4 separate regions of the Homo sapiens genome follow, and all the other regions are linked to region 2. Evidence: promoter capture Hi-C in 16 types of primary human blood cells and fetal thymus (Javierre and others, 2016). All regions are on one chromosome and are shown on one strand. The core of a region is centred on a gene start or on the middle of the fragment in contact, and the rest is flanking DNA. Distances in the headings are between cores, read along the strand shown.

Region 1 (4,858 bases), core at 1,541-4,040, about 16 Mb before region 2:
CTTGCTCATAATATAAAATGATGCAGCAGAAGTCATGCTGTGTGGCTTTGGAGGCTAGATCATAAAATGCAATTCAGCTTTAACCTTGTTTACTGAAACACTAGCATTTGAAGCCCTGAGCTGCTTCGTAAGAAGTCTGACTACTCTGAGGCAGCCATGCTAGGAGGAAGCTCAGGCCACATGAAGAGTAGATTTAGGTATTCTGGCTGACTGCCCTATCTGAGGTCCCAGCTTCAACCACCAGCCATGTCAGAAAATATGCCTCCAAAGGATTTCAGTCTTCAACCATTGAGACACCCCCAGGCACTGAGTCTTCCCAGCTGAAGCCCCAGACATCATGGAGCAGAGATAAGCCATCTTTGCTATGCCTTGTCTGAATTCTGACTGAGAGGGTAATTTTATATTTTTCAAAGGGTGAAAGTATAATGTTTGATCCTCACAATGATAGTTTGGCAGGTTGGGCTAGCATTATTATAACCTTCATTTTATAGATTAAAAAACAAAACAACAAACAGGGATTTAAGCTTACCTGCTTTGAGATTGTATAGCTAAGGTGTGGAGTGCTGACGCTAAAATCCTGATCTTTGGACTCCAAAGCTTATGCTTTCTCTCGTTTCTCATCTGGATACTGTAGGACTTTAGAATGGCCTAAGGAAGTAAAACAGGATATATCCAGAATTTTAAGGCAAGGTCAGAAAATGTCAAATGAGTAGAACGCTAAGAAGAATCAATATTAAATGGATGAGACCAGTCATCCTGTGGAGAAATAATCATGGAAGATCTGAACTACAGACTGATACTGACAAATAAGGCTAGAATTCAAAATGGAACCAATGTGAGGATAAAAGCCTTTAAAACTTTTAATGTTATAAGGAAGTGTTATAATGATATAACATTTTTAGCAGCTAATTTTTTAAAAATGAAATAGGACAGTTAGAGAATTAACAAAAATCTTGCCAGTTGTGTTTCTGATGAAAGGGTGATGAAAGGGTGATGAAAGGGGAAAAGGTGCCATGACTGGCTAATGGTGCTATTTCAGTCTGCTTCTAAGTATGTCCTTATAGTAAAGGGTGCTTCAGATTAGTTTAGCTTGATGACATCATCCCTTGTGATCATTTACTCTACATTTGCCAAGCCACTTTTTGATTTAAATTTATTTCCTCATAGAAACTTTCCTACTTGGAGGAGAATGTACAATGAAGTTAACAAAGCATACCATGTTCATGTTTTTTTTTTTTTGGAGACAGAGTCTGGCTCTGTTGCCCAGGCTGGAGTTCAGTGGTGCAATCTCGGCTCACTGCAACCTCTGCCTCCCAGGTTCAAATGATTCTCCTGCCTCAGGCTCCTGAGTAGCTGGGATTACAAGTGTGCACCACCACACCAGGCTAATTTTTTGTACTTTTAATAGAGATGAGGTTTCACTACGTTGGCCAGGCTGGTCTCAAACTCCTGGCCTCAGGTGATCCATCCGCCTCAGACTCCCAAAGTGTTGGGATTACAGGCGTGAGCCACTGCGCCCGGCCTACAATGTTCATCTTATAGGTTATATTTTTTCAATGCAGAAGAATGTTAGTATTCTCATTCATCAAGCAGCCTCACACAGCATCCTTTACCTGAGAGTAAGCATCAGCTCCCAGGCTTACGGTGACCCTAATCAATATGAAGACACCCTGTTTCAGAAGTCAGTAGGACACCTTTCTATTTCTTGAATCATCCAAAATACAGTAAGGAGGTCGCTGGTGACTTCCCCCATGATGGGAAGTACTAAAAGGCAGAATCCACTTAGTTTTTCATGACTTCATGTTTAGGTTACTTTGGTGATTCACTCCAGGCCATTGGGAGCCCACAGTAATTGTTTCTCATTCCCGTTTCTCTCTTCCTTAAACTTTTCTTTTCCAATTATTTATTCTTTATTAGATCCATGTATTTTTAATAATGAATTGAATTTCATTCTGTAATTGGGCTTCTCAAAGATAATTGACCTCTTCTCTCCCAATTGTTTTCATGCGTATTTTGCAGAGAATGCTTGGAATATTCTGTTCATGAAAGGCACAAAGTACATAAAATATTTTGAGTGATTTTCTTCAAAATAAAAATGATTAGTTTTGATGCTTCAGATGTCTAGAATGCTATGTGCCTTGTACAGGCCCTACGGCATGGAAAGTGCTCAACTGATATTTGTTAAATGAATGAATCTGGAAAACGAAAAATACACGAAATATTTTATTCCTCAACAATGAAGAAAAAGCTTTCAGACTTCCATTTAGACTCGTTTTAACTGGCTGAATTCTTCAATGAAAAGAAAACACGCGTCGCACTGCTAATTTAGCTGTTCCTAAATATATTTCCATCAAATTCTGCTTGGCTGTTTCAACCTTGGGGTTGAAGTTCTTATTTTGATGACACAGAGACGTTCATTGCAGTGGAAATAGCAAGTAGTATTGGCTTCCCCGCCTTCCTCCCTCTAGGATTTCAACTTCTCCTCCTCGAACACCAGCCCTGCTCTTCTAGTAAATCCCACATTACAGAACAGGCTGAGGACGGAGGAGACAAGAGGAAAGTAGGAAACCGGAGCCATGGAAACGGCGGAGCGGAGGCAAAGTGTGAGAGCGCGGGTGGTTAGAAGGGAAAAAACCCTCCCCGGACGACGGCGCGAAGGCGCGCCTCAGATTACGTCACGCACCGGGGTGACGTCACGACCGTGACACGCGGGTGACGCCGTTGCCGCGGCGACTTCTCGTCGTCTCCGCCCCCTTCCCCCGCTCCCCCCCGCACCCCCGCCTAGCGTCCTTCCCCCAATCCCCTCAGGCTCGGCTGCGCCCGGGGCCGCGGGCCGGTACCTGAGGTGGCCCAGGCGCCCTCCGCCCGCGGCGCCGCCCGGGCCGCTCCTCCCCGCGCCCCCCGCGCCCCCCGCTCCTCCGCCTCCGCCTCCGCCTCCGCCTCCCCCAGCTCTCCGCCTCCCTTCCCCCTCCCCGCCCGACAGCGGCCGCTCGGGCCCCGGCTCTCGGTTATAAGATGGCGGCGCTGAGCGGTGGCGGTGGTGGCGGCGCGGAGCCGGGCCAGGCTCTGTTCAACGGGGACATGGAGCCCGAGGCCGGCGCCGGCGCCGGCGCCGCGGCCTCTTCGGCTGCGGACCCTGCCATTCCGGAGGAGGTGAGTGCTGGCGCCACCCTGCCGCCCTCCCGACTCCGGGCTCGGCGGCTGGCTGGTGTTTATTTTGGAAAGAGGCGGCGGTGGGGGCTTGATGCCCTCAGCCACCTTCTCGGGCCAGCTCCGCGGGCTGGGAGGTGGGCATCGCCCCCGTGTCCCTCTCCGTCATGCAGCGCCTTCCTACGTAAACACACACAATGGCCCGGGGGGTTTCCCTGGCCCCCACCCCAGATGTGGGGATTGGGGCAGCGGTGGTTGAGCGGGAGGCTATCAATAGGGGGCGAAACTCAGGGTTGGTCCGAGAAGGTCACGATTGGCTGAAGTATCCAGCTCTGCATCTCTGTGGGGTGGGGGCGGCGGCGGCCTCGACGTGGAGGATATAGGTTAGTTGCTGGGGCTGAGACAACAGCCCGAGTTACTGTCGCGTGTAATTCTTACATGGTCGTGGGGATGATGGGGCTCATCATTTCCTCTCTCCTCTCCCGGACTGCCCCCCTTCTCAGTCCGCTGCCCTTTTTCACTTTTCTATTTGGGGATTTCTCTTCACCTGTTTTACCCAGCAAATTATTTTGATTTAGTCTTTACTTTTTCAATCCTAAATCGCAGTTTCCGATGCCTTTTCTGGTCTCTGGTCCTCTGTTCCTAATGTTTGTCAGCGCTCTGTCGCTGATTGGTAACCCCCATTCTATTCCCATCTACCGCCCGCTCATTTTCCAGTTGTCGGACCTGCCTGCCTTCTAACCCCAGCTCCCACTTAAGAGCATTTTTGCACTTCTCTTACCCTGGTCCTCTTGAGGCTCTGTACTTGATCTCACCACTCCCTAACATTGTTGTCTGTTGTTATCTTCACAAATCCTCCTGGACACTTTGGAGCTACTTGTTTTCTGAGCCCAGAAGCTGTCAAGATTCCATCAGGTTTCACTTGGCTCTTTTCGCGCTTGCACTACTGGCACTTTTTGGCTAGTCGTCCATTGTGCATTCACACCTCTTTATTCCTACCCATTTTTATAGGTCTGATTGATTTCTTAGTGTTGTCCTCCTTTTTGTCCTATTTTTTTCCTTTTCCTTTTTCCTCTCCAGTCCTTGCTTCTCTCAGCCTGTTTTTGCATTAGTCAGCCTCTTAGCACTGTGTCAAATTATTTACGTTTTTTTATTACATAAAATTTATTACAAATATTTGGTATTTTATTACAGAAAATAATACTTTATTATGCTTTACAAATAAGATATGGTATAATAATTGTGGTTTACAGTTATTGATTAGGTAATGTGACTTACTCTGTTGACTTTGCTCGAAGTTCTCTTTGCTACTTACTATTAACATCTAATTTCTCAATTCTCATAACATCTCATTCTCTCTGCAATTTTTTTTTTGCATCATCATCTTTGGAAATTCATCCAATATGCTTGCTTTATTCAGCATCAGCTTGTTTATGATAATGTTTGTTTTCTACTCTTTATATCATCTTTGTTACATGCCCAAAATGTGTTCTGTACCATCATTTGATCTGTTCTAAAATTTCTCATTTTTAAGTTTCTTAAAATCATTCCACTTTTCAGTATGCATTTTTGCTTAGATCAGTTTCCTCTCATATCTGTTCCTTTCCCCCAGCTTCTTGATTTCTAAGGAGAAAGCTCTTCTCTACTTCAATTTCCTAGTTTATTCTGTTTCCCTTGTTTCCAGTTACCATTCATTTTGCCTTGTTTC
Region 2 (4,855 bases), core at 364-2,863:
TTAGAAGGCTGAGGCCAGAGGATAGCTTGAGCCCAGGAGTTCCAGGCTGCAGCGAGCTATGATCTCGCCACTGCACTTCAGCCTGGGCGACAGAGCAAGAGCCTGGGAGAATGTGTTTAAATGGTGACGGGAAAGAATGAATAAAAGAAGGAAAGCTTAAAATACATTAAGAGAAAATATATTGATGATGATGGAAGGGAGATGAAATTGGTCAGGGTCCAAAGCCCATGTGGAGGGCTTCACATAAAAAGGAGGAATAGTATTTCTCAGCCGGATGCAGCCAGAGATGGAAGGAGGATAGCATCTAAACCTTCCCTATAGTTTTCCTCAAATGGACAGCTCCTGAGTTCATGCACTTGTCACCCCGGCTTCTGCGTGGGATATAACTACAGGGATGGGGAGGGGAAACAGGAGATGGGCTAATACTGAATGCTTCCTGTTGATTAAAAAGGCACTTCAAACATAGCTGGCTGGGCACAGTGGCTCATGTCTGTAATCCCAGCACTTTGGGAGGCCAAGGTGGGCGGATCACAAGGTCAGGAGTTCGAGACCAGCCTGGCCAAAATGGGAAACCCCGTCTCTACTAAACAAATACAAAAATTAGCCAGGCATGGTGGCCTGCGCCTGTAATCCCAGCTACTAGGGAGGCTGAGGCAGAAGAATTGCTTGAACCCGGGAGGTGGGGGTTGCAGTTAGCCGAGATTGCGCCATTGCACTCCAGCCTGGTGACAGAGCGAGATTCCGTCTCAAAAAAAAAAAAAAAGTTAGCTATATCCTCCTGCAAATATGTATATAAAGAAGATATTTTAGTTCAAATTAGCCTTGGAAATATTCATGTAATTCTTTATTACATTTAGTTTCACACTAGGATGATTTCACTTAAATGATTGAAGGCATATATCTGGAATTAGCAGAGAATTCATGTTTAACAATTTATCATTATAAATGATAAATTATAATATTTATCAATTATAAGTTATAATAAATATTAAATAAACTATAATAAACCTATAAAATAAATTATAATAAATATTAATTATACCACAAAATCATGGCCCTATAAAACAATGACAAGGTTAATCAAATCTGTCTGTAAATAGCAAGACTCAATGGTGGCATTATGCCAATGCCCGAAATTACTATAAAAACTCCCAAATAACATTGTTATCCTTGTAAATGCTTCCTTGTAAAGACTGCAGTAGGTGCCTATTTCTTGGAGGAAGAGAACTGGACATTAAAAGAAAGGCTCTGCCTACAGGAGCTTCGAATCTACCAAAGGGAAGCTCAAATCCCGCCCAGCGGACCCGCCCGCTTCCCCTAAGCTTGCCTCCCGCCACGAAAGCTGGAAAGTCACTGGGGGCGGAGCTAAGGGGAGCTGCGAGAATTCCGGGGGATGTGACCGGACTGGGCGGGGCCTGTACCTTGGCCCTGCGCTCCCGTTGACGTCGCATCCTGTCAGTATTTCGCCAAACCTCCAGGCGCCATCAGTGTGTGAACCGTTACGCAGCTGGTCCACCGCGGGCGGAGAACAAGCGACTATGCCCAGGGATCCTGCACGCATGCGTGGAGCTGAACCGTCAGCGTGCGTGTGACGTCACCTGCGCGCCCGCCTAAACTCTTCCTAGGGTTCTTTCTAGAGTACGGGTGAGTGAAATTTGTAAGGTTTGGTGTGTTCATTTGAGTGGGTGCCAGACGTAACGGGCCCGGGATTGAATTAGTTTAGATCAAAATTTGATGTAATTATCGCAGAGAAACGCTTTCTTACGAGTGTTTATCTCGAGCCTGCTGTGTTCAGCATCTTTCTTGGTGTTTTGGGAGAAGCAGACAGGAGTTAAGTCCAAGTCCCCGCCCTCACAGAGCTCAGGTGGCTTGGGGGAAGGTTGGTGCGCAAACATTAAAATTAGATATCGACACTAGTGAGTGTCCCCGTCAAGAGGTCTGTGAAATAAGGTTGAGCCTACGATGCAGAAGTTAATCTCAGTTCAGTAATTTTTGTTTCTTCATTTATTTAGCGGGTGAAGGGAGGGGGCCACAGAAACATGTTGGAGTACGATGCTTTTGGTGCACAGTTTGTCTATACAATATTACAGCTCCCGTGGGGGTTAAAAAAAAACACGATTTTTCAGCCTCCCTCTTCCCCAATAAATTTTACATTTTAAAGCACAATGTTAAAAGCGTTTGTTAGTGACGTTACAGATCTTAAAACTGGCTTTTTGGAGGTACTTTACGCAGCTAAGTAGAAAATGGTTAAGTTTCAGTTCCTTGGAAGAATGTTTTGTATTGATCTTTGCAATAAAATTGTAAAATAATCCATCCTCCTGTCACCCCCCAACCCCGAACCGTGTTAACTATAATAAGGAAAAGCATAACTAAGTCAAAGAGACTTAAAGCAAATTATTGACTTCATTTTGGGTAAAACACTGGTTTTGTATTTTCAGCAGCAAGTTGTCAGATTCCCTAGTTGAATTTGCTTTGGACATCAGTGTGAAGCAGAACTGATATGCCACTTGAATTAATAAAGGAAGTCAATGGGGTGCCTGAAGTTCAGCCGCTGAGTAAATTACATAAAGTAGATTTCGGATCCCTACAGCCAGGTTACAATTATAGCAAGAAATATATTCAGGTAAGAATTTCTATAACTCAGAATGCTTTTTCCTACTAAAAGGAATGCAGTTTTTAAGTGTTGAGTTTATTTATGAGAACTGGTTTAGGTATGGTTTTTATCTTTGTCATAACATTTGAGATTGAATATTTCAATAAGTTATTCTTATTCAGTACTTATTTAGCGAACAATTATCAAATTCGTGTGTGAAACATTGGAGTAAGTTTCTGAGGTACAAAGATGAATAAATATAGTCCCGGAACTAAAGATAATCACATTTCTGTGGGGTCTGACAGATCAATCACCTGATCTCCAATTAAAATTAATAGGTGTGATATTAGCATTGTGATGTGTGAACATGAGAGAGCTTTTGGTTCTGACAGATCACGAAAGTTGAGCTGGAACTTACGGGATAACAGACTGTGCTGTACCTTCCTTTGAGGTAAAAAGCAGTCCTTATGTGCATGTTGAGGAATTTGGATATTACTCTAAAAGCTATGGGAAGTCTTTAGTAGGTTTTAGCAGGAGAAAGACATGATTTACTTTGAGTTCAAAAAACTTTGCTCCTAGGTAGAGAATATATTGGCGAATGCAAGATTAGAGGAAAGATGTTTAGTTAAGAGGCAATTACAGTAATTTAGGTGAGAGTTGATGATGATCTGGGCCAGTGGCAGAGGGGATGATGGGAAGGATATTGAAAAAAGATAGTAATAATAATAACTAAAGTTAACATTCATTGCATTTTTTTCCATGCGTTAGGTAGTTTTTACGTATATTATTTAATCATCACAAAGACCTATGACATAGGTACTGTTATTAAAGACACTGTGTTTCAGAAAGGTTAAGCAATTTGCCTGAGATCATATTGATGATATGAAGTAGAGCAGGAATTTGAATATAGATGATTTCCTTTAGACCTGACAGGATAAAGAAGCAGAATCAGTAGGTCTTAGAGAACAATTAGACTAGAGTGGCAAAGAGAAATTCAGGAAACTTCTGTTTCTAATTCCTAGCCAACAAGGAGAAGAAAATAGGGGGTACATACTTAGGGAGAAACATGATAAGTTCAATTTTGGTCATATTTGAAAGGTCTTTAGAGGTATATAAATAGTAGTGTGCAGTAGGCAAGTGGATTGGGGAGTTTGAAGCCCAAAGGGACTCTCATTTAGATGGGTTTGAGCCAAAGCATAGAAGAGAAGAGAACCATGTTGAAGGAGTCAGTGAAAGAAAGTAGTATGAATAAGTAGCAGAGATGGTCTAGAGAAGGAGGAAGAAACTCAGGAGTCTTTGATACGTAAGAATGCAAGTTTCAATAACACTTGTATAGATTGTTGTCTAGTAGGCACTCTCCTAAATGCTTTGTATATGTAATCTCTTTGTATATGTTCTCTCCTAAGAACTCTAAGTATTATTCTCATTTTATAGCTGGAAAACAAACACAGGTTAAGTGATTTATTCAAGGTCTAATAGCCAGTAAGTGGCTGAGCAGTGATTTGCATTCCCATTGTCTTTGCTACTAAACAGAGCATTATGTTGCTATTAGATGCTCAAAGGTCTGAAAAGTATCTGTTCATTCTAATAACCAAGAAATTATTGATCACTTGGAAAGATTAGTTTTGCTTAAACACTAAGAGCAAATTCATTTTTCAGTAGTTTGAGGATTGAATGTCAGGTGAAAAAATGAAAGCAGAAAATGTCTTTCAAGAAATGAGTTGTGATACTTTTGATAATTTAAACAAAATTTTTAAAATTTATTTTGTAAATAGGTGTGGGAAACAAGTGCAGTTTTGCTATGTTGATATATAGCACTGTGGTAAAGTAAGGGCCTTCAGTGCATCTGTCACTGGAGCAATGCAGCTTGTACCCACCAAGCAACCTCCCATCATCCACTCCACTCCTAATCCCCTACCCCTCCAAGTTTCCATTGTCCATCTCTGTACACTCTGCTTCTGTGTGTACACATTATTTAGTTCACATTTTTGAGTGAGAACATGCAGTATTTCTCTTTCTGTGTCTCAGTTGTTTCATTTAAGATAATGGTCTCCATTTCTATCCATGTTGCTGCAAAAGACATAATTTCATTCTTTTTAATGTCTAAATAGTATTGTGTACATATGTGACTTTTTAAATCCAGTCCTCCATCGATGTACACTTTGGTTGATTGCATATCTTTGTGATTTTGAATACTGCTGTGGTATACATATGAGTGCAGGTCTCTTTTTTATTTAATGATTTCTTTTCCTTTGGGTACAT
Region 3 (5,231 bases), core at 826-3,325, about 14 Mb before region 2:
TTGCACTAGTTCTCAGAACTCCAGGTTCCCATTGGACAACGTAAAGAGAGCCAGTTGACATCTACACAGGCAGTTCCTTCTCTACAGGAGAGGAACCCTAAGCTTAGGGAACCCTAATCTTTTAAGATGGGCAGTAAGCATGCCTACCCTTTCGCTCCAGAGGGAGACGTTATTCTTATTATACTGGATAATATGTATCCCCGCCTTTTGCTCTGGTGGAAGACACTATCTCTATCTTCCAAGGCTGCTCTTTAGATAATATCCGTGAAAAAATAGAAACAAAGGGCAGTCAGTATCTCGCTGGCAAGGGTGCTGGCAAGAGTGAAGAAACGGAGACCCACGGAAAACTGTCTCCTACAAGTGGATACTGCTCCTAACATGCAGTCAAATAAATGAGTCTCAGCCCACAATCTATTTGAAGTATCCATTTCATACGCCCCTTGACCTAGCATAATTACTTAATTAGCATTTTATTTCAAACTAAATCAACTATTTCCTCTAAAAAGTATTAAAAATGCTTTTCCAGTTACACTGTATTTTTAAAAAGGAGGTGCTCAAATATTTGCAATAATAAAATTTAAAAACCGCCAAGTGTTCTACCCGAAACTGTACTCAAACTTACTTTAAATGTTTCAAACCTGTCAAAGTTAGCAATGGAACACCTGTCAAAAGTCTAATTTTACAGTAATAAACACCACAAAGAGAACAGTAACTTCCAGCTTTATCTATAAAATACCAGAAAACCCAAATCACTTTGTATTATTTCTCTTCGCCGTCTCAAAATAAAACCTTTGAAAGAGACACACAACAAAACAACGTCTCTTGGTTCCTTTGTCCCCAGCAGAGGAGAGGGAAGAGAACTGGGAACTCATTAAGGTAAAGAGCCCCAAACATGCAAGATAAGAAATAAATGACATCCGATCTGCAATCAATCATCAAAGAAAGTCACCATCACTTCATCTTCATCCCTCCCTTCTCCCCTGCAGCTCAAATAACGTGAGTATAGACGAGATGATCAGGATCATATGGACCTGGACAAAGCTTTGTGGAGGCAGCGGGCGGGTAGCAGTTAACTGGCTGCAGCCGGCAAAGAACCCGAGATTCCGGCTGCAGGAGACTCCGACAGAGGTCTGCAAAAGTGCGAGTGGCAGGGGCCGCCCGGCTGTTGAGAATGCGGAGCAGCGGCGGCGGCGGCGGCGCGGTCAAGTCCACAGCGCCCGGGGAAGTTGCTGGCCGAGCGCGACACGCCGCAGAGCGCGGGCCCTCCATGTCACCGTCGCCAGCACAGACCCTCCTGCTCGCCCCTCCCCCGCCGCGCACCCCGGGCGGCGGCGACATGACAGCGGGTCGCGCCGCACAAGGGCGCCCGCCCCCTCCTGGCCCTCTCCCCGGGCTCCCCAGCGGCCGCGGCCGGTTCTCACCTTGGGTGGCGAACGGCGACGAGCCGCTGACCGGCGAGCCGGGGGCAGGGACGGGTGGCGGGGTCTCGGCCGAGCCCAGCATGGGCGCGGGCAGCATGAGGTAGCGCTGGGGCGCGGGCAGGCAGCGCTGGCAGAAAGAGTGCAGGCAGGGCAGCAGCTTGGGCGCCCGGCTCTGGATGTTCTGGTGGCACACGGCGCAAGTGTCCAACAGGTTGAGCCGGGCCGCCTCGCCGCCGCGCTCCGAGTCCGGGCCCTGCCGACTCTCGGCCTCGTTCTCCCCGCTCGGCGCCGCCGAGGGCCCCCCGGAGGCCGCAGCCGAGGCCGCTGCCGCCGCCGCCACCGCCTTCTCCACCGCCACCTCCATTGTCCTGCCCTTGCCGCCGCCGGGGAAGCGAGAGCGCGGTCTCCGCCCGCCGCCCCCGACGACCTCCTCCTCCTCCTGCGGCTGCTCCTCAGAGGCCGCTCGGTGGACTCGCGGCAGCGCCAGCGAGGGAGGGAAAGCAAACCGGGCGGGGGAAGCCTCCTCAGGCCCACGGGATCCGCCTCCCGAGTGGCGCGGCCGGAAGGAGGGTATCTGTCAGCGGAGACCGTTCCTCGCACCGGGGAGGCTGCACCCCGTCCGCTTCGCCAACCGCCGAGGCGCTCGTGGAATACGCCCAGCCCGCCCTTGCCTCCCCGCCTTTCTCTTCATCCCCCTGGCCCACCTCAGGCCCCGCCCCCGCCCCCGCCCTCCCTCTCCCAGCAACTGAGGCTTCGGTGTGGAGCGCGCCGCCCAATAGCGGCCGCGCCTGGCGAGGGGGCGGGACCTGTTGGAGCCCGCGAGGCTCCGTCGGCCGCGGCGGGAGGTTGGGAAGTGGGAGGTGCTTGCCCAGCCCCGCCCCCTCCGGACGCCTGAAATCGCGGCTTCTGATTGGGCCTTTGTGTATGTTTCCTCCTCTGAAAAGATTAAGGGTTCATTTGTTAACGACCATCCGCCTGATTCGGTCCGCGGTGTTAGCTCCTCCTAGGGGGCGGGACCTCACTTGTCTACTCAATGCCGTTAATTAAGTAACTGCTTGGAAAACTGATTTCATTACTGGAGACCTGGTCTTGTAGGAGGAGTAAATATGGTCGGAGGGTCACAGGAGGAAGGAGTGGAGGTACTGAAGAGCAAACAAGGAAATAATTTTTTAAAATACTGTGTGAAAGAGGTACTCTGGAGGCAGCAGGGATATTGCAACCTAATTTTACTCATCTCTAGAATGAATGAGTATGAAGAATAAGGGGGGGAAGTTCTCGTGCAAGTTGGAAATTTTTAAAGGGTTTCCCCAATGAAAAAGGTGAAATTAATTTTTAAAGTCAGTGATTTGCTTTTTAAGTGACTAAAAGTGGTTCGTTTTCCCAGGAATTAATACAGATTGACAAATGTTTTTATTGCATAAATATAGCATCATTAAGCAAAAATAAACCTCAATACTGTTACCCAAATAATTCATAACTTCAGGATTCTTTTGTATTTCCTCCCTCCCTCTTATTTTATTCCCTCCCTCCCTCCCTCACCTCTCTACGCTGATATCAGAAGTTACGCACATTTTTCACTCAAAAAATGGCGCAGCTTTTAAGGAACTTGAAGAATAGAAACGGAATGAAGGAAACAAGATTTTGTAACACGTAACTTTAAGAAGTATTTACCTTTTTTTTTTTTTTTTGTCAATACTAATGAAGCGGTACTGGACTTTAGAGAAAGATGGAGTGGGTCATGAAAGGCTTTGCTAAAATCACAGTTTTCCTGGAGGACTATATGGGATGGCAATGGGGGAGGGCTAGGCAACGTAGCCTTCCTTCAAGACCTTGCCCTTAAACACAACCTCCGTAGGCCTCAAGTGAGAGGTTCTTTTACTTAATCACAAGACATTCAACAGCTCTTCCCGCCTCCCCCACCCATTGGTTCCTGTTTAAGCTTGGGATTTTTTGTTTGTTTGTTTTTTTGCATGGAAGTAGCTCTTAAACCTTAGTTTGCATAAGAATAACTTGAGAAGCTTAGTGAAAAACAGGTGCTTGGGCCACCTCCGTATTCAGTTATTCAATTTTGATAGCATCTCAAGTGATTCTGACCTGGGTGGGTCCAGAAACGGAAGTCTGTCCCACAGGTCTTCACCCACTCACAAATCTCTCCACGATTTCGTCCGTATATGCCTCTCAAGCTGAAGTCGCCGCGACTCTCATGCTTCATGCTGCAGCAATTGTAAGGCCACCCTGCTTTGTACACGCTGTTCCCTTTGTTTTAGTTCCTTCAAAATTCTGACTTATCTGTTATCCCCTAAAGCCACCCCAAAGTTGAACACTCCTTCCCCAGAATTCAAACCATATTGTATATTTTTGAAGCTACACCTTGAAAACATTCACATAATAGGAATGGAATTTTGTATTCAAAAATCAACTCCCTTAATATGCTAAAAATTCATTACATAGGTGGTATACAGGATTCAAGCCTACTAAAGACAAGTCCCTCTTATTCCCCAGATGATGGTGGTAGGGAAGGAAAACTGAGAAGTAAAATTGAATAGGCTGGTTTTGAAAGAATTCCATGTAATTTGATCAAACCCACTAGCTTAAAGTTTTTCAAATCACCATGGTTTTACAGAAAATGATCTTCCATCGTTTTAGCCTTCCTAATTTCACATGAGTAAAACAATCGTACATTGTACTTTGTTCACATATATGGAACTTCAAGTCCAGAAAATGAATTTACTGTTTGTTTTTCTTAATCATATGATTTCTTTATTTGGATATTGTTGCCCTACAAAGCGTGTTCAAATATATTTCACAAAGATCCACACTACCAATAGATTACTCTTCCTTAATTACAGCTCTCATCCTATGTCCCTCCCTTATCCCATAATTTTCTGTGGCTCTCCACTGCATCCAAAGCTCTCCACAATTTTATTCCCATCTGATCTTCTTGTCTGATGTTACTGCTTTCCCATATCCATCCTGTGCTTCCGCCTAATTGGATGATGCGCTGTTTCTTGTTTCTTAACTGCACCACTACCACCACCTATGAGAGAGGAGATCAAAGCTGTCTGAACTGGAAGAGAAGGGCATCAGCAAGGAGAATAAAAGCATCAGATGCTGGCCGGGCGCAGTGGCTCATGCCTGTAATCCCAGCACTTTGGGAGGCCAAGGCAGGCGGATCAGCTGAGGTCAGGAGTTCAAGACCAGCTTGACCAACATGGAGAAACCCTGTCTCTACTAAAAACATTAAATTAGCCCGGCATGGTGTTGCATGCCTGTAATCCCAGCTACTCGGGAGACTGAGGCAGGAGAACTGCTTGAACCTGGGAGGCAGAGGTTGCAGTGAGCCAAGATCGTGCCATTGCACTCCAGCCTGGGCAACAAGAGCTAAACTCCGTCTCAAAAAAAAAAAAAAGCATTAGATGCTAGTAAGATTTCTCATCCCACCCCTCAAAAGGTGCTAGTGGGTGGAAATTCTATAACTTCCAGGGACACTTAAGAAAATCATTTTTCGGCCAGGCACAGTGGCTTGCTTAGGCCTGTGATCCCAGCACTTTGGGAGGCCGAGGCGGGCGGATCACGAGGTCAGGAGATCGAGACCATCCTGGCTAACACAGTGAAACCCCGTCTCTAATAAAAATACAAAAAATTAGCCGGGCATGGTGGTGGGCGCCTGCAGTCCCAGCTACTCAGGAGGCTGAGGCAGGAGAATGGCGTGAACCCGGGAGATGGAGCTTGCAGTGAGCCGAGATCGCACCGCTGCACTCCAGCCTGGGTGACAGGCAAGACTCCGTCTCAAAAAAAAAAAAAGGAAAA
Region 4 (5,082 bases), core at 2,511-5,010, about 11 Mb before region 2:
GTTTTTGTTTTGAGATGAGGTCTCACTCTGTCACCCAGGCTGGAGTGCAGTGGCACAATCTTGGCTCACTGCAGCCCCAACCTCCCAGGCTCAAGCGATCCTCCCACCTCAGCCCCCCTGAGTAGTTGGGACAATAGATGTGTGCCACCACGCCCGGCTTATTTTTTGTATTTTTGGTGGGTTTTGGCAGGTTGCCTAGGCTGGTTTTGGCAGGTTTGGCAGGTTGCCTAGGCTGGTCTCGAACTCCTCGGCTCAAGTCAGCTTGCCTCTGCCTCCCAAAGTGCTGGGATTACAGGCATGAGTCACCATGCCTGGCCATGGTGAGGTTTGTTTGTTTTTTGAGACAGAGTTTCGGTCTTGTTGTCCAGGCTGGAGTGCAGTGGCGTGATCTTGGCTCACTGCAACCTCCACCTCCTGGGTTCAAGCAATTCTCCTGCCTCAGCTTCCTGAGTAGCTGGGATTACAGGCACCTGCCACCACACTTGGCTAATTTTTTTGGTATTTTTAGTAGAGACGGGGTTTCACCATGTTGGCCAGGTTGGTCTTGAACCCCTGACCTCAGGTGATCCACCCGCCTTGGCCTCCCAGAGTGCTGGGATTACAGGTGTGAGCTATCGTGCCCAGCCTGTGGTGAGTGTTTTTTTTAACCACCTCCTGTCTCTGCATATTCTCCACTCTCAACCTGGTAAAGACTACCCTCCTCTCCCCACCAATCTAAATTAGGCTCCCCTCTTAAACTTTCTCATAACATCCTTTATACATCTTCTTAGTACTCATGACCAATTGTAATCATATATATGAAATTCTGTTTATATGCTTGTAGTTATTTATTTATATGATTATTTAATCTCTGCTTTTTCTACTAGGCATTATGCTCTATGAGGACAGGGACCATGTTTTGCTGACCATTGTTTTGCTATACCACCAGCATTGAGCACAATGCCTAAAGGCAAAATAGATTTGTTAAGTGAATAGATAGGTTCCACACTTAGGAATCATTAGGTAAGCAAAGTAATACAACTGAATGTTTTTTGTTTTGTTTTGTTTTGTTTTGAGACAGAGTCTCACTCTGTTGCCCAGGCTGGAGGACAATGACATGATCATGGCTTACTGCGGCCTCAACTTCCAAGCCCAAGTGATCCTCCCACCTGAGCCTCCCAAGTAGCTGGAACCACAGGCAGGCACCACCATACCCAGCTGTTTTTCAAATTTTATCTTTGTAGAGACAGAGTCTCCCTAGGTTGCCCAGGCTAGCCTTGAACTTCTAGCCTCAAACAGTTCTCCCGCCCCAGCCTCCCAAAGTCCTAGGATTACAGGCATGAGTCACCACACCTGGCCAAATTTAATGTTAACTTTTAAAATTATATGAGAATGAAGTGTTACATACATAAGTCTATATGATAGTATATATATACACATATGCATACATAAACATATGAAAACTGGCAATGTAGTATAGTAAAAGGAGTACTGGCCTGAGATGGTAGTGACTCTTACAATTGGTGACCTAGGAACTGTCACCTCCTTACTGTCAGTCTCAATACAGGGGTGGCATTGCCCCCTAGTGTTGGATATTTTATTTATAAGTGCTAGCAAACCATGACTTGACTGTATTTCTAGAATGGTCATGCTGAGCATTTATATATTGAAATACAATTTTATTATAAAATATTTTCTTCATATCATTTATATTATAAATAGCACATCATTTTGATTTCAGATGAAATCATGTATATAGGTAGTTTATATACCTATGAATTTCATTTTAGGCTAACAAAGAGCATATTATAAAAACATTTATTAAAAAAAGGAATGTTGGGTAAGATAAGGTTGCCACTGGATTAGGTGATGCTTAAGATCCCTTCCAGTTTTTACTGTGATGATTCTAATCTTTCATAATGGGAAGGCTTCTTTTTATTTTGTTCTTTTCATTACTTTGTTTATATACTACTATAGAATCAGTAATATATACAAGAACAATAAACACATTTTTAAATAAAAATGTCAACCATATTGAATGTTTAGGCATTTAATTACCTAAAGGGAAATCCAAATAATTTCCCAAGTTTCCTTGCTAGGTAATCATTTCATGATTCTATAATTTCAAACTTTGGGTAAAATGTGACTTCACTACATATTTTAATTTTTACCCAAGTAACTGTTGTCTCTAGGTTTATAGTGAGGAAACTGAAACACAGAAAACCAATGTACCAAAAGAATGAGGCCGGGTGCCCTGGCTCACGTCTGTAATCCCAGTACTTTGGGAGGCCGAGGCAGGCAGATTACCTGAGGTCAGGAGTTCGAGACCAGGCTGACCAACATGGTGAAACCCTGTCTCTACTAAAAATATAAAAATTAGCCTGGCGTGGTGGCACGTGCCTGTAATCCCAGCTACTCGGGAGGCTGAGGCAGGAGAATCACTTGAATCCGGCAGGCGGAGGTCGCAGTGAGCCGAGATCGCGCCACTGCACTCCAGCCTGGGTGACAGAGCTAGACTCCGTCTCAAAAAAAAAAAAAAAGAAAAAACAATGAATTGAGGGCTTATTATGAAATTAAGTTCGTAAATTTAAAACTGCAACCTCTTTCCCTACTCCCCTTCCCTGCTTTAAGTTTTTAAAATCGGTTATGACATACTATGCATTTTAATCACGTATTTTTAAAATAATGCCTCTTCTCTCCTCTTCCTCATCCCAACACATCACTAGAATAGGGACAGGGAATTTTTTCTATTTTGCTCACCATTGTATTCTCAATATATAGAAGAGTACCCGGCAGCTAGGAGGAGCTCATTGAGTATTTGCTGTATGAGTGGGTGAAGAATACATGCAATAAGCAAAAGTTACTGCTTCGAGCGCCACTTCCACCAGAGTTCTGGGATGCAAACGGGGCGACCAGTACATTGACTGACTTTTGTGACTGATGATTCCTCAGTGCTCGTAGGGATTGTGGCTGCATTTATTGTTCTTGGGGATGTGCCGATGTGTGTAGTTTGTAAACTTGCACACAGCTGTGCTGGCTGGACACCGAACTAACACTAATTTGCACCGAGGTCCGCAAATTCTCAAATTCACACCAACAGAAGCACGTTATTGTAAGTGCACGGGTGTTCCGTTCTCTTGGGTAATCTGCACAGAACAATTTAGTGTATGTCTTCACTGGTGATTTTACAGTGAAGAAGGGATCAAGGGTGGTGGCCCCAAATGCGCAAGGACAGGGAAATGAATTAAACAGGCGCCTGTTTCCTCCTTGTTCGCAAACAGACGCCAAGTCTGTATCAAATTCTCACCCTGGATCAAATCCCGCGCTCTTCGTACCCACAACCTGCCTCCACCTCCACCCCGCCCCCTTTAGATATCCCTGGTGGGCGGGGCAGAGAATAAACATTCCGGGCTCCCCGAAAAACTGTTTAGCCTCGCCCCAGTCTTGGGGTAGCACATTTCCGCAAACACCGAGGACACGGAATCACTAGTGAAAACCGCCGACCAAATGACATTGAAGCAGCACACGCGTGCAGAGAAGGAAGCAAAACACGAAGAAAGGCATCAGTCCAGCAGCCACGTGAGGTGGGCGATCCCCTCCGCCCTCTGAGAGAGGACTTCAACTCCCGGCGTGCCCCTGGGAGGTTACCCTCCGAGGACTTCAACTCCCAGGGTGCTGCGGGAGCGGCCACCGCAACCTCCCACTCAGCCGCCCGCCGCTCCTCCCGCCCCTCCCCCGCCCCTCCTGGCCGGATCAGCGTGCGCCTGCGCACGGGAGGCCGGAGGAGTCTTACCCTAATGTAAGATGGTGGCCCGTCTGGCTGTGGAACCCACCGAAAGCTGAGAGTCTCTCTCTCAGCCGTAAAGGTCGGACTCGCTGAAGCAATCAGGCCCGGTTCTGAAGAGTTTTTTCCCCGACGCTCGTTCGGTGGTTTCTTGTGAGGACGCGGCAGCCCGTGGAGTCGGCTGAGGGAAAAGCGAGGCAAGGCAGGCGGGTGAGTCTATGCGGGGCTGGGCTTAGGGGAAACCCGGGGCTGACCGGCTACGAGAGAGCGGAGGCTTCGCTGGGACTGTACAGGCCGCACCCCCCTTTCTCCCCACCCCCCGCCTCATCTTCACCCTCCTCCTCCTTGGTCTTCTTCCTCCTCCTCCTCTTCCTCCCTCTCCCCTTTACGCCACAGCAGTTACCATAAGGAAAAGGGAGCGGGTCAGAAGGCAGCGCGGCGGCAAGCAGCGACTCTCCTTCGAGAATTTCTTTAATTGGGGAGCCGAGGCGGCTTTTGGTCTCCAGCTTTTCCCCCTGCATTTTCACCGGGGCAGGATTCTTAGGTCTCAGCCCTCCTTGTTTCCCCAATCCCCTGTTCCCTGTCTGACGTCCTTTCCCTCTGGCCCCCGTCTCCCAAGACCAAAGCCATCACTTCCACTCTGATCCGTGTTGGCTGCTGCTGCTCATTAATCCCACTGCTCATTGCCCACTCGTCCTGCTGCTTGTTTTTTTGCTCCACTGCTACCACTCTGGAGTTAGCCTTTGCCCCCCTCTGGTGCTTGCAATCAGCCCACAGTGTATCTGCCACACTAGAGCTGCTTCCGATTTGCAGTCTTTCCTTCCACCACATCTGTCATCTTAAAGCTGCCCCTTAAGTATCTAGATTATGCTCCTCCTGCTAACCCACCTGTTTCTCAGCCTTCTTGAGAATTGTCCGTTCCTTCCCTCTTTCCTGTACAGATCCTTTCAATATACACTTCCAGAAAAAGGGAAGCCCCGTGGTGGCCCTTGAAAAGTAAAAGGAAGTTGGGAAGTGAATGAAGTGAGGTAGGATACTATTAAACGTTATGAGTGAAGATCTTTTATTCAGGCTACTCCGGAGAGGACCGTTTTCGTTTTGCTTTCTGTGATCTATTTGTCGCTTATTCGCTCTGTTGTGTTAGGACTTGGCTTTTTTTCTTTTTTTTCGTTTTGGACCGGTTTTATCATGCTACTAAGCGTTCTTTGGATTGCCTCTCCCCAGGACACTTAGTGTGGGCCCTGATTTATACCAATAAATATTAACCCCAGCATTACAAAATAAGATAAATCTGGCGCACATACAGAATTCATCTGTGA

Evidence for each region. The method cuts DNA at HindIII sites, captures the fragments that hold promoters and counts their contacts. A CHiCAGO score of 5 or more calls a contact.
Region 1: the fragment with the promoter of BRAF here is called in contact with the fragment with the promoter of POT1 in region 2 in 2 of 17 cell types (total B cells and naive CD8 T cells); the score reaches 7.8 in total B cells.
Region 3: the fragment with the promoter of TRIM24 here is called in contact with the fragment with the promoter of POT1 in region 2 in 2 of 17 cell types (total CD8 T cells and total B cells); the score reaches 9.3 in total CD8 T cells.
Region 4: the fragment with the promoter of CNOT4 here is called in contact with the fragment with the promoter of POT1 in region 2 in 1 of 17 cell types (non-activated CD4 T cells); the score reaches 5.2 in non-activated CD4 T cells.

Annotation. Positions count from the first base shown.
Region 1 is chr7:140,922,861-140,927,718 of GRCh38, reverse strand. BRAF (B-Raf proto-oncogene, serine/threonine kinase) reads left to right here and starts at 2,790. Exons shown (of 18, transcript NM_004333.6): 1 at 2,790-3,153. The coding sequence starts at 3,016. It overlaps LOC105375536 (a long non-coding RNA gene), which reads right to left and starts at 2,627. Exons shown (of 5, transcript XR_002956518.2): 1 at 1,217-2,627; 2 at 530-648. RefSeq lists a silencer at 2,898-2,967. The HindIII fragment of the contact is 2,638 bases long and covers 2,251-4,858 here.
Region 2 is chr7:124,926,583-124,931,437 of GRCh38, reverse strand. It overlaps POT1 (protection of telomeres 1), which reads left to right and starts at 1,613. Exons shown (of 19, transcript NM_015450.3): 1 at 1,613-1,644; 2 at 2,439-2,623. POT1-AS1 (POT1 antisense RNA 1) reads right to left here and starts at 1,565. Exons shown (of 8, transcript NR_125719.1): 1 at 1,422-1,565. RefSeq lists enhancers at 1,329-1,623, 1,378-1,677. The HindIII fragment of the contact is 3,988 bases long and covers 1,325-4,855 here.
Region 3 is chr7:138,457,103-138,462,333 of GRCh38, reverse strand. TRIM24 (tripartite motif containing 24) reads right to left here and starts at 2,075. Exons shown (of 19, transcript NM_015905.3): 1 at 1,422-2,075. The coding sequence starts at 1,785. RefSeq lists silencers at 1,204-1,683, 1,714-1,963, 2,024-2,413 and enhancers at 1,924-2,706, 3,110-3,620. The HindIII fragment of the contact is 2,319 bases long and covers 1,044-3,362 here.
Region 4 is chr7:135,508,780-135,513,861 of GRCh38, reverse strand. It overlaps CNOT4 (CCR4-NOT transcription complex subunit 4), which reads left to right and starts at 3,760. Exons shown (of 12, transcript NM_001190850.2): 1 at 3,760-3,973. RefSeq lists enhancers at 3,065-3,234, 3,385-3,504, 2,880-3,784, 3,815-4,014, 3,785-4,690 and a silencer at 3,575-3,814. The HindIII fragment of the contact is 7,472 bases long and covers 1-5,082 here.